2 separate regions of the Homo sapiens genome follow, and region 2 is linked to region 1. The links are contacts of gene promoters, found by promoter capture Hi-C in human tissues and cell types (Jung and others, 2019). All regions are on one chromosome and are shown on one strand. The core of a region is centred on a gene start or on the middle of the fragment in contact, and the rest is flanking DNA. Distances in the headings are between cores, read along the strand shown. Region 1 holds the start of GRIK1 (glutamate ionotropic receptor kainate type subunit 1). Region 2 has its middle 8.4 kb from the start of BACH1-IT3.

What was found. Contacts are between HindIII fragments. The study calls those that stand out against the background at their distance.
Region 2: a contact is called between a fragment that was not itself captured here and the fragment with the promoter of GRIK1 in region 1, in 2 of the 25 tissues and cell types used here (H1 embryonic stem cells and dorsolateral prefrontal cortex).

What each region holds. Positions count from the first base shown.
Region 1 is chr21:29,937,959-29,944,207 of GRCh38, forward strand. It overlaps GRIK1 (glutamate ionotropic receptor kainate type subunit 1), which reads right to left and starts at 2,038. Exons shown (of 18, transcript NM_001330994.2): 1 at 1,425-2,038. The coding sequence starts at 1,542. RefSeq lists an enhancer at 1,324-1,825. The HindIII fragment of the contact is 7,699 bases long and covers 1-3,532 here.
Region 2 is chr21:29,484,129-29,491,122 of GRCh38, forward strand. No RefSeq gene overlaps it. Among named protein-coding and RNA genes, the nearest start is that of BACH1-IT3, 8.4 kb to the right of the region's middle. The HindIII fragment of the contact is 6,526 bases long and covers 1-5,294 here.

The DNA of each region.
Region 1 (6,249 bases), core at 788-3,287:
ATCCAATACAATGCACATTAAAATTACCCATAGTCTAGAAAAAACATGTGTGTAGTAAAAGTTAGTATTTGATATCTGCAGCTCAAAGTAGCACATTTCTATTTTTCTTTTAGTGGGCATGTTCAGTGATTAAAAAATAAAACCTAGTATGTTCTGAATTTTTGTAAAGGGGCTGACTAATTGTAGGTCAGAGCTAGTATAGTAACTGAGCAATTTCAACTGCTCAGGAAGCGTCACTATGCCAGTGTCTGGCACTGCTCCTGGCATATTCTGTTAGTTCCTGGAAAGGGGGAGTTAGAAGTCCTCAGAGATCAGGGCTTCACTCTTGCGGTTGAAAGTGGAAGATGGGAGAAACTAAGAGACCCATGTGATGTCACAGCTTCTCCTGTGGCTCCCTCTGTGACCGTGACTCTAAGAAGCCCGATGGGTTGGGAAAGGAGGAGGGCAAATGAGATTCAGCGAACAATAACTGGGTTTAGTTTAAAAGGCGAAGAGCTGTGTCAACCCTCAAAGTTCAGAAATTGCCCTATGCAGCCACAGACCAAACCTTGGTGGTGGGTGCTATACACTTATGGCTGTCAGTCCACGCCCCTTCCACTGTCCTTGCGTTTTGTCATCTTTGGGCTGCCCACATTCAGCTTTCCGGTGTCTTTTTTATCTCATTCGAGATCAGAGCCCTGAATCTCCTAGGAAGCTACCTGGACTGGGAACTGGATCTTGCTCAGTGGCAGGCAAGCGGGCAAATTAGGGAGCAAGTGGGAAACTTAAGTGTCTGCTGATGTTGCTAACTGACCGTCCTTCTCACTCTTCGAATCTTCAGCTCGAAGTCAGATCTGAACTCTGCCCCAATCTAGTGGAACCCGTCAGAGTTGGCAGACTCCATGTGGAAGAATCCAACTTAGGCATAAAAACTTGGAGGCTCTGGGGTAACAGGCTCTAGGATATTCCCACATCCCTAGTGGTCCCTGTATTGTATTCTTGAGATTCGTGCATACTTGCCAGTGCCCAGAGCCCAGGTTGCCAGGCACCGGGACTGCGGATCTGGACTGCCAGACGCCCACCCAGGAGGCTGGGAGAGCTCATTTCTGCGCCCAACTCAAGTGGCTGCAGCGGCTCGCGATCCCTTGCCCAGAGTAGGGGTGCCGGTCCCTGCGAACCTGGATCCCCGCACTCTAGCCCGCGTTCCTGGAGCCCAGATTGAAAAACCCGCCAACTGTACCTCCCGGGGAAGGCCGGCACCCTCCAGGAGGGAAGCAGTGACGCGGCTCCCCCTTTTTTGTGTAGCCTCCCATGAGCACTGACCTCCACCTTCCCCAGCTCCGGCTCCTGCGCCGCCGCGCGCTGCCTCGCCCGGGACCCGCTACACCCGCGTTGGTGCGGCGACCGACCACGTCTCCCGAGCAGGCAGCCTGGGGCTCACTCACCGATCCTGAGTACTTGCGGGGCGGTCTGAGGGAGGATATAGCAGAGGAAATAGAGGAGTGCCCAGCTGGTGTCCCTGGTCCAGAGCCCGGGCTGGGCGAGGAGTGTGCCGTGCTCCATCTTCCTAGCTTCTTAATTCATGCCGAGATACAGCCGCTGCCGGACGCCCGAGAGATGCACCCAACTTGGGCCGGGTCCCCGCCTCATCCTCTCTGGATGCTCCGGTTCCAAGCACGCTGCGCGCTCCCCACGGAGCGAGCTCGAGGGAACCCGCGTGGGACCGCGGAGCTGGCTGGCAAGGCTGAGCTCTCTCGGGGCTCCTCAGTGCTGTCGCTAGCCCATCACGGCTCCTCCTCCTCCTCTTCCATGGGCCGCAGACCGCGGAGGATCAGCGCTCTCTGGCTCCCGGAGCCCAGAGACCAGCTGAGGAAAGTTGCTGCCCCGATCTGCAGGAACGTCTCCCTCATTCGTCCTTTGGTCAGATGCAAAAGTCGGGGGATAGGCACAGACAGAGGAGGGAAAAGGGGGAAAGAAGACTAACGAAGAAGGAGAGAGGGTACAGGGTGAGTTGGTGCAGGGGCTCTGAGCAAGCCTGATGAGCTCCAGCAGGTTAACTGGGAGCGGAGCCACGTTCCGGCTTCTCTGAATCTTTGCTTTCCTCCTCCCCTCGCTGGCCCCACCCTTTATTTACTGCCCGCCCCAACCCCACTGATCAAGATACTCGCGCGCGCGCGCGCACACACACACACAGACACACAGACACACACACAGACACACACACACACACACACGCTCTTTTTTCTCTCCCTCAACTTTGCGCTCTGCTGCTGGGAAGTCGATCGAGTGTTGCATTCTCAAGACAGATCAAATCTAAACTATTGGTCCGAGCAGAGAAAGCCTCTGCTGTCCGCTGTGAGTGGCAAGGAAGCCTTCTTGGTAATGTCCGTGTGCACCTGTTAGGGGGTCTTATAGACAGCCAGCTATGACTCGTCCCATCATTTAATGGAAAATCACCTCCAATATTTTGGAAAATACCGGGGCTCCTGTTTTGACTCTGACGAGGATGATGAACAGGGGAAGGGGGAGAGGAATGAGAAAGCTTCAGTACTCCAAGATTATAGTGGCTTCATTCCTATTTGGACCCAAGATAATCTCTTGCAAATTGCTTCCATTTACACATGCCACTGAGATAGAAGCAGCCTCCAGCGCCGCTACTTTTCTTCATTTCTTTTAACTGTCAGGTCTGAATACTGAAAGATAGGCTATTTTAGCAATGTAGGTTTGGAGACTGTTTCTCTGTAGAAGGACAAGGACACTTCCCTAGGGAAATCAGCATTTGATTATGTTGGATTAATTTCCTTCGAGTTTTGTGGGGAATGTTCTATATATATGTTTGCTAGGTCTATATTAACATCTCTTTTTTTTAACTGGTAAATAGATTTTGAAGAACTGACCAAATCCATATGAAAAGTATGTCCACAGTTGTTATATGAGCCTAGAGTGGGAAACAATTGCAAAAGGAATCTAATATATCTTAAAGTCCATTCGTGTATTAATTAATTAATTCATTCATTATTCAACAAATACCTACTGAGTATTTTGTTTGTGGTGTCAGACACTATACTTTTCACTAAAAACCCTATGGTGGGGAAAATGCATGTTCATTCTCCAAGGGAGGTTAGAACTCCACTGTGGAAAGCTAGTCAGTTCATATCTCAAGTAGTAGGCTTGGTTCTGGACACTTTGGGATGAGAGTTAACAAAGCAGAACATGTCTGCAGATAAGAAGAGGGACTGATAGGGATTTAGGAATGCATTTTTGCGTGGAAAGATTGAGGAAACCAAGAGGAATTAGGAGCACATGCTGGTTATCTTCAGACATTTGAAGAATTCTTGTGTTAAAAGAAAGTAGCCTTATTCAGTGTTAGATATGTGAGAAGAGCTAAGAAAAATAAGATTGTCAGAGGGAAATTGTAGAAGAGTAAATTTTGTCTCATTCGGGGAGCATTTTTAAGACCAGAGAATATCAAACAGCGGCAAGGCTGGGTGTGCTGGCTTACATTGGAGCACTTTGGTGATGTTGAGGAGGGAAGATGACCTAAAACCAGGAGTTCGAGGCCAGCCTTGGAAACATAGCGAGACCCTTCCTGTGCAAATAAAAATTAAGAAAAACAGTAGCATGACCTGCTTCAGAAAAGAGGCAAAGTCAAACTATTCATTTATTTATGCATATTTTTTGAGAGCCCACGTTGTGTGAGGTATTGTGCCAATCTCTGGAGACACAGAGGGATATGATTGCTGCCACTCTGGAACTCATTGGCATTAAAGTATGATGAGCTTTACAAAATGGTGTTATGGAAGTAAAGAAAAAAAGTAGTGTAATCCCATTTAAGAGTTTGGAAAGGGGTTCTTCAGGAAGTGATGCTTCAAAACTCAAAGAATCAGTGGTTTAAAAGGGATTAGTAAGTATTTCTTAAAGTGAGAATGAATGTAAATCTGTTAGAGGGTTTATTTTTAAACCTAAAGGTCTGTGGTAAGCATTTTTAGTCATCTATTTTCTCTGGGTACATCAAAGACCAATACATAGCAGATAGTGAGTGGCTAAAGTTTGAAGACCCAAGGTCTAGAATTAAGTCAGCTTTTGAACAAACTGGGTTTAAATTCTGGTTTTACCAAGTCTATGTTTTTAGCTTTGGTTAAATTTTTATGTCTGCCTGTAGTCCATTGCTGGTGCTTACGTATATCTAGTTTTCCCTTTCTCTGGCTCATGAAAGCCTGTACCTTTTCAATTAGTTGGAATCTACCTTTTCAATTAGTTGGAATCATGTGACCATTTTTGGCCAATAAAATATGAGTGGAAGTGCACTGCTGCCAGGAGAAAAGGAAGACAGTGAAAAAAGATCCTGCATGACTTCCAGGACTCTCTTTCCCTGCCAGAGTAACTCTGAAAGCCACAAGTTCTAGAGGTTAAGATGAAAGCAGCCTCAATCCCTGAGTAATTTTTTGTAAGGGAGTTGCTCTGAATGTTTCTAGAACAGCAACACACTGCTAACAAATCAGTCCCAGCTCAACATTATGTTTTAATCCACTACAATTTTGAGATATTTGTTACTGCAGCATAAGCTTCTCTATACTAACTAATAAACTTTCTATGACTTGATATCTTCATCTGTAAAATGAGGATAATAATAACACTACAGGGCCATTGGAGGATTATATGAGCTACTGCATGTGAAGAATTTCCCAAGGTCCTTGTTACTCAGCATATTTTAGTTTATTTGTGGTCATTACTTTTCTGGTTAAAGGAATCCATGCATATATTTCTAGTAATAATCTGCCCCAGATTGCAGAGACTGAAATATTTTGTTTTTTGGGCAAGAAGTCAACAACACTGGTCCAATTAATTATATGGTAATCATAATTGTTCTGATACTATTTCAGGAGTTTTGCTACTTTTTACCTGTATTGTCTCTGGTTTATGAGGAAACAGTTCATTTTGATAATTAGAGATATTAGAGAGATTTCCTAAAGGAAGTTTCTCGAAAACTAAATGGCACACTGCAGTTATGTTTCTGTATCATCTGTAAAATTCTGTAAAGCTTAAAACTGAAATTTATTTCCTTGTTAAAATGCTTCTCTCCACTGCTCATGTACACAGGCTCATGGTGTTGAGTTACTCATGAGTGATCAGCAGCTGCTGTTAATTTGTTTTGTGCTTTTTAGAAGGACTGTATTTTGTACATATATTCATCCAGTTATTTTTTGCCCGAAATGACTCTGGTAATCACTCTTGATTCACATTTTCTCATAGTGCCCTCTTAAGAATAAACATGTCTAATTGAATGCATGCCGTCTTTTTCCCATTCCCCAAATCTTAAGCTTAAATTGATACACCGTGGTTAACAATAAAACAGTACAATGACATGCAGCATTGTGCTTCCTATGAGAGCTGGTGGCATTACTTAGATACTAATCCATTTTAAATTACTTAATTTTTAGGAGATAACAGATACAAAGAAAAATAGCTTAGAGTAACCTGGGGAATGCGAATGTTATACAGTCTTTTCAAAATGTTGTGAGCATAGTTGAGGAAACTTAAAATGTTACTCATGGCACCAAAAACAAAAGATCAAGTGGCTTTTAGAGCCTGCTGGGACTGTGTAGCTGATGTAGGGTCTAAATCTTGAGTTCTTGACTACTTCTTTATGCTTTTTTCGCTAGGTCATATCATATATTTCTATGATGTTAAATACTACCTTTTAGCCAAAGATTCCCAAATGTTGTCTTTTGCTCAAACCTCCCGATTCATGCAGCCAATTTTAGTGACCATTTCTAAGTGAGCCAACATCTCAAATCCTTGATTCTGTCCCATGTCATTGTCCCGCACTGAATCCTCTCCCAAATTTTCTTATTTCAATATGAACACCACCTTCCACCCAGCCATTAAAACTGGAAAATCAGGAGGTCACCCTTCATTTTTTTCCTTACTTCTTCACCTACTCCCGTATCAGTTTATTTTTATAATGGCTTTACCTCCAGAGTATGTCTTTAGTCAGCTTCTCTATACTCCACTGATATCATACTAGCCTGGGGTTTCTCAACCTCAAAACTATTGATATTTTCGGTTAGAAAATTATTTTTTATGAAGGCAGTTGTCCGGTTCTTTGTAGGACTTTTAGCCACTTCCCAGGGCTCTCTCCACTAGATGTCAGCAGTATCCTCCTCCCAAGGTGGGACAACAAAAATGTCTGCAGACATTGTCAAATAAATGCCCTCCGATGTACAAAATTACCCCTGATTGAGAGCCACGGCACTAGCCTAAATCACC
Region 2 (6,994 bases), core at 782-3,281, 450 kb before region 1:
TTTGGTTCTTTTCTTCACGGCTCACAAGTGGCTGCATGTTGAGGCTGGTGGGATGACATACTGATGAGTTCCTGGTTTTGTACCAATCATTATCACCTCTTCAAGTTTTACTTAACCTACCACCTTGGCATTGACTCAGTATAGCTTGCGGATGAAGTTGCTCTTGTGAAAGGCGTTGAGGAACTCCTCAGCAGATGCTAACAATCTGTTAATGACTTTCCTAATGTGTAGACCCAAGCTGAACAAACATGAAGGCAAATTTCTGGGCCTCGATGTGTTCGCTCAGACTGTACAGGAGCCTTTGTAATTTGATGTTACCAGTTCCTTGGTCAAGACAAGGAGGCAGTTATTATCTATGCCTCTTAGCAGCTGACCTTCAACTGTAAGAGACCATTCTGGATGTAGCAAGTTCCTAAATGACATATTGCTATTCCTTTTAGCTATCAAGATGCTTGGCAGAATTTTTTGTCTCTAGAAATTACCATGGGATCTACAAGCACTGAAGACCAGTTTTATTAGTAGACTTTTGTGGAGTGTTGCTGGAATTAGTGATGGTATCTTAAGTCACAACTGGGTCTTTGAATACTGACTGCTTCTTTGGCTTCGGGTACCCCAAATCCTCCAAGCTCTTCTTGATTTGGTGGATCTTTTGGAAAAACTTCTTTGGTTTGTCTACTTTTGCCATACTCAACTCTCAGGTTTTCATAGCCTTTTATCTTTGAAGACCCCACTGAAGATAATGCAGTCCCCTGTTGTATTAGTCCGTTTTTACGCTGCTGATAGACATACCCGAGACTGGATAACCTATAAAGAAAAAGAGGTTTAATGGACTCAACAGTTCCACGTGGCTGGGGAGGTCTGACAATCACAGTGGAAGGCGAAAGGCATGTCTTCCATGGCAGCAGACAAGAGAGAATGAGAGCCAAGTGAAAGGGGAAACCCCTTATCAAACCATCAGATCTTGTGAGGCTTGTTCACTACCACAAGAAAAGTATGGGGGAAACTGCTCCCAAGATTCAATTATCTCCTGCCAGGTCCCTCCCACAACACGTGGAAATTATGGGGGCTACAATTCCAGGTGAGATTGGGGTGGGGACACAGCCAAACCATATCACCTGTGATCTCCAGAGACTTCCAGGGCGTGGCTCATTTCCACTGACACATTTACAGAGATGTTGTTAGTGGTGTCATACCAAACATAGCTGCCTTTTTTTTTTTTTTTTAAGACGGAGTCTCGCTCTGTCGCCCAGGCTGGAGTGCAGTGGCGCAATCTCGGCTCACTGCAAGCTCCGCCTCCCAGGTTCACCCCATTCTCCTGCCTCAGCCTCTCCAAGTAGCTGGGACTACAGGTGCCCGCCACCGCGCCCGGCTAATATTTTGTATTTTTAGTAGAGACGGGCTTTCACCGTGTTAGCCAGGATGGTCTCGATCTCCTGACCTCATGATCCTCTGCCTCGGCCTCCCAAAGTGCTGTGATTACAACCATGAGCCACCGCGCCCAGCCAAACATACCTGACTTTCTCTTTGCCTTTCTTCTGCTGGACTCCCACCTTGTCCTGTAGCTATTCTAGGGTTCTAGAGAAATTTTATACAAGGGACAGTCTTTGCTCCTGGCTATGACTTCTTCCCCAGATCCGTCTTGTGCTCCTCTCTAGTAAACTTGACCGTACCATGAAGAAGCACAAATGATGACCCTATGATCTCACCTCGTCTGGTAAAGCCCAGCGACAGTCCAGCCTGCACCTTTCTTCTTCTCCACCTGGACCTCTTTGATTCTCCTGAGCTGTGGACTTTCTAATCTGAAAATCCTACCAACCTACCTTCTAAAATTCCAGAGGGAGATGACTCAAGATAGTGTCTATGCAATTTTCTTCTGGTTTTTCTTTAGTGACCAAAGCTGTAGGTTAGTTATTTAAGTTATACTTTATGCCCTGAATAGACATATTGGCAAATGAAAATGTTACCTGTCCAGACTTTCCAGCTTCCCTCCAGCAGGTCTTGTCACTTGGTCTTTTTTCTTTCCATCATGCGGAAGGCTTGTTCTTCCAACAGTTTCTTGCCTGCTTCACCTTGGGACTCACTGTGTGCCTTTAGAACTTGTCTAATCAGAAATTAGATTGCTATTCTTGGCCAGAAAGCAGAGCCAGAGAAATTCGGACCTAGCCTCATTAGAACAGGACTTTAATCAGTTGAGCCTACCAGCCACACACAGGCTAAACATATATATTCTATATAAATAACTACACAAACATATTTATATATCTTTTTAATGTGTGTGTATGCACTGAAGTTTGCAAAGAACTGGGATAGAAAAGCAAATGCATATGATGATTAATGAAACCAGAATTTTAAGTGGTTCCTTGTTGTATATTTGCTGACAACATATTATTTTCCTTTTTGGAGTGGAGTGTGTAAACCTCTGGGCAGGAAAGAACTATGAATTATTCTTTCCCTTCTAATCTACATAAATAAGAGATTCTAAAACTGTGCTTTTAGCCATTTACCATGCAAATAGTCACCAGGGATAGAACTGTTGTAGATCTAGAATATTTATTTAATGGCAGCTGCTACAGGACACATGCTTTTTGAGTTCAATGGCCTAGAATCTCCTCACCCTTACCAACCCCTCCCTTTTAAGGTTCATTTCTTGTGAGTAGCCTAAGATCTGCCTTGTAATCATGCAAAAGGATTTATTTCAATTATAAGAAATTTCATCTCTTCCCTGTGCCTTTTAGGAGCTCCTTAGACTGTCTGAAATACTCCATCCGGACTCATGATAATAGCTCCAGATTTATGCGTTATAACTGGGTGTCTTCATTTTTTTCCATATCAGCAATGTAGATCAACCTTTTTTTTCTAACATATAAAAATCGATTTAGTAGGCCCTTACTTTGCTTTTGGTGGGGAGTTTTAATCTCTTATTATAGACCTTATTTCCCAAACAAAGGCACAAACAAAGAGGAAAAAAACAAGGTTAATAGTTTTCTTTATCACTGGACTCTATCCCCCTACCCACCAATAACACTTAACTGGAACCCTGTCTGTTTCCTTCAATGACCTTTGCTTATGTTAGTTCTCTGAGACAAGAAAATGTGTGGACGCGCTAATAGACAATTTACTTTTTGTTTGCAAAAACAATTCAGTTGCCCAACACGGGACTGTGTTGTAGCTGTGGTGATTAGCAGGCAGGGTGGATAAAGCTTCGAGAACATTATTCAATGCCTAAATGAAGGTCACATTCCCAGTGCTAGTTTTAGTGTGCATGCAAATGATGGCAATTGCTGGGCTGTTCACTCTCACACAAGCAAGGCTTTGTTAAATATGATAATCAGTCAGCTGGGAAGGTAAAAGTTTCCTGCAAATAATATTGAAACATTTAAAATTGCATTGTTATGGAAAAAGAGACCACTCTCATTCATTCAAGTAGTATTTAACTAGAGACAAAATAAAAATGATTGTAGAAATCAGGTTGGAACTCTTGATTATTTAAAGTAATAATGAGGGACCTACTCATTGAACTACTTAATTTACCCAAAGAAGAGTGTTGAGGTTTCAAAGGCAAAACTTAAAAAAAGTCAAAAAAAGAAATGAGATGTATGGCAATGTATTTATTTCTGGGAGAGAATGTTTTAGTAACAGGGAGCTGTGAGGTGGGGGAGAAGTGGTTGGAATTATAATAATCAGCTTGGTTTATTGAATCACAATAATGAATCTCTCCCTTTGTCGACGTATGGCTAGTTATCCTCAGATTATCTTAATGATATCAGGCAGAGTGTGCCGTTGATCCGTGCTTGAAAAGTAAAAATAGTTGACAGTCAAACTGATCTAATCTTGAATGCTGTTTGTGACAGAGGGAACGATTTTGTGAAAAAAGACGAGGTGGTTTTTATGTCGTGCAAAAGGCTGAAATAATGCTTTACATTATTGCTGATATCAGTTCCATTTAAAAAGTTTAACAAAGTGAGTTGTGTTTAAATGATTCCTCTGGGGTGCGCTCCTATTAACTCTATTAAATAGCATAGATACTTCTGGAAGAAGGCTGTTTGTACTCTATGCACTGGCAGAAGTGAAGTTAATTTCTGCACCATAATCTCACACTTCTCCTGACAAACACACAAACACCTAATGACCACCAGCCAAAGTCTAGCAAACCAAAACCTAGTCCCAGATACTGCACAGATAACATGGCTGAATCTACAGGAGATGTATTTTAAATCACAATCTTAGGGTGAGAATATTAGCAAGTTGTAGACAGAGACACTTTAATTTTCCCTTCTCATATTTACAGAGGCTTATAGAGCACCTTTCTTAAGATAGGCATGTTAAGGGAATGAATATGTGAATGATTGCATGCCTGCATGACGGAAGCCATTCTGGAGGATTGGACCAGGGACACATCTTGAAGGGACTCTTGGTATTTTAACGTGGGTGGGATGTGATTCAAAGAAATATTAAATACTCTTGCTAAAATGGAGCCAATAATAATAATAATACAAATAACATGGAGCTAATAATATTACAGTAGCTAGCTAGCTAGTCAGGCATGAGCAAGGCAGGAGAGGGCTCCTCTGTGCCCATCAGGAATGTCAGGTGACTATCAGGTATGGTCAGGTGGTTGTTAACTGTCTCTGTAAAATAGTAATTGGTCACAGCTGGCACCAAGAAAGGCCGTCTCCCGATAGATAGAAACGCCTGAAACTGGTGATCAGCAGCTTCCCAGTAAGATCTCATGAGCTGGGCAAGTGGGTTCAAGCATGCACATTAAGAGGCAGAATATTCCTAGAATGTTCCTTCTAGAACATTCAGCTGGTAAGGGAAGAAGAACTCCTCAAGTAAGCATGTGTACAACTCCAGTAAACACCACACTTGCGGTCACTCCCAAGTGCTAGCAGGCTACCGCGCATGCAGACAGCCCACCCCAGGGGATGAATCAGGGGAGAAGAGATGCAAGACCCCGCAAGTATTTCAACTTATAAAACCCCATGTCAAAGGTTAAACAGGGCATTTGATCTCTCAAGTTGCCTGCTTGGCCCTCTTCCAAGTGTACTTTACTTTCTTTTGTTCCTGATCCAAACTTTTTAATAAACTTTCTCCCCTGCTCTAAACTTACCTCTATCTCTCCTTCTGCCTTCTGCCCCTCATTCAAATTCTTTCTTCTGAGGAGGCAACAGGTTGCTTCAGGCCCTCGTGGATCTGCCACTGCTAACCTGCTTTGGTACCGTGCAACTCAGATGCTTTCTGCTGCTAACAATAGTAGCAGCTTCTTCACAGGGGTTTGTGAAGAATGCATATAAAGCTCATATATACATTCCTGGCACATTGTAGAAGCTATAGAAGTGTTGGTTATTGTTATTTTATTATATTGAAGAGGAAAAATTAGCTCCAGTGAAGGGCCTTAGAAAGGGAGAGCGTGAAGTTTCTATTCCTCTGTCAAGAAGATGGTATCTGCCAAATTCTGACTTTTCTGGGCCTCGAGTGGGCACTTTCGCCCTTTTTTCATAAAAATAACTAAGCTAATATTATATTTTATGATTATGTTGATATAAAGATGAACACAATTCAGGCTGGATTTATTATCATATATTTATTGTTATTAATATTTTTCTTCTGACTTAAATAAAATTAAAATATTTTTGTGGATTCCTAATGTTCTGTGGGCCATAGGCACTGTGTCTACTGTAACTGGCTAGGGGTCTGGGGTAGGGCTGGGAGTGAGGTTGCTGGAGAGAAAGAGGTAGACCAGGAAGACAGTCTTCATTGCATGTAGTGGCTTAGAATCTAGGCTCTGGGTTCAATTCCAGGCTCTACCACTTACTGATTTTTGTGACTTTGGATAATTTATTTAACATCTAAACTTTAAAATTTCCTCATCTACAAAGTGGGATAAAAACAATAATACATACTCACAGGGCTATTTGTAACATCAGAATGCAATTATTTATATAAAGCACTTAGTATGATTTCTGGTACACAGTGAACATACAATGACTATGAGCATGACTTTTAGCTCTATGTGTTTCTGGGTTTTAACCACCAGTGTCTCCTCCCCACTCTGCTCGCATTGCATTTTTCGTGGCGGTAAATTCCAACCTTCTGTGGATTTAGGGTCATGGCCCAGAGTTTTCATAACTTAGCAATGATTCCTGCCATTGTTCAGAAGTTTTTGAAAGTCCAAAGAGACAGGGCTTGATTCAAGAGCTCAAAGTGTTTATACATCTTTCTGGGGCTTTTCTCTACCCTTCAATCTTTATACATCTTCATATCATTTACAGAATTCTTCCCTGTGCTTTGTATCCAGTGGAAACTCATTAAATCATACCTGCTAAATTGAAGTGACCTGGGGCAACAGAACATTTGAAGTAACATTAGGAACCCAATACTGCCCCACAAAGCTCTATGTCTATATGGAGTGGGGCCCTCTTGACTGCACAATAAAAATGTTATACAGAAATACTAGGATTTTGATATTTGAATTCAAACCCATGATTGAGACAGGAAAGAAAGAGGAGAAGATTCCCATGATAACTCATCTTAGGGCAGAAACGCCTCTGTCAACAAGTGCAAAATGTAGGAATTATCTGGAGGTTTACTTTCTGATTTACTTGTTTCAGAACCGGCCTCCTTTTCCTGGAAAGATTGTCCATCTGAGCCCACTAGTTCTGTTAAAATACACACGGAGGGGAAACAAGGATTAGTCAACCCGATTAGCCAAATCAACCCTGATGGCAAATGAAGCAATAGACAACACTGCCAATGGTCACACCAATATTGTACTATCCCATTGGCAAGAAGACAGATTTCCCTCCCAGGGTTCATATGAAAACATAAAAACCAGAGATAATTTTTTTTTTAAAAACTTAATTATAACAGTTTTACTCTTCTCTTTTGCTGATTTTTTTTTTTTTAAAAACCTGTTCCAAGGAGGAAAAGGATTTCATTGGAATCACATAGTGAGACAATTTACCTTGTCGAATAAAATTGCCAAAAGTTAGCA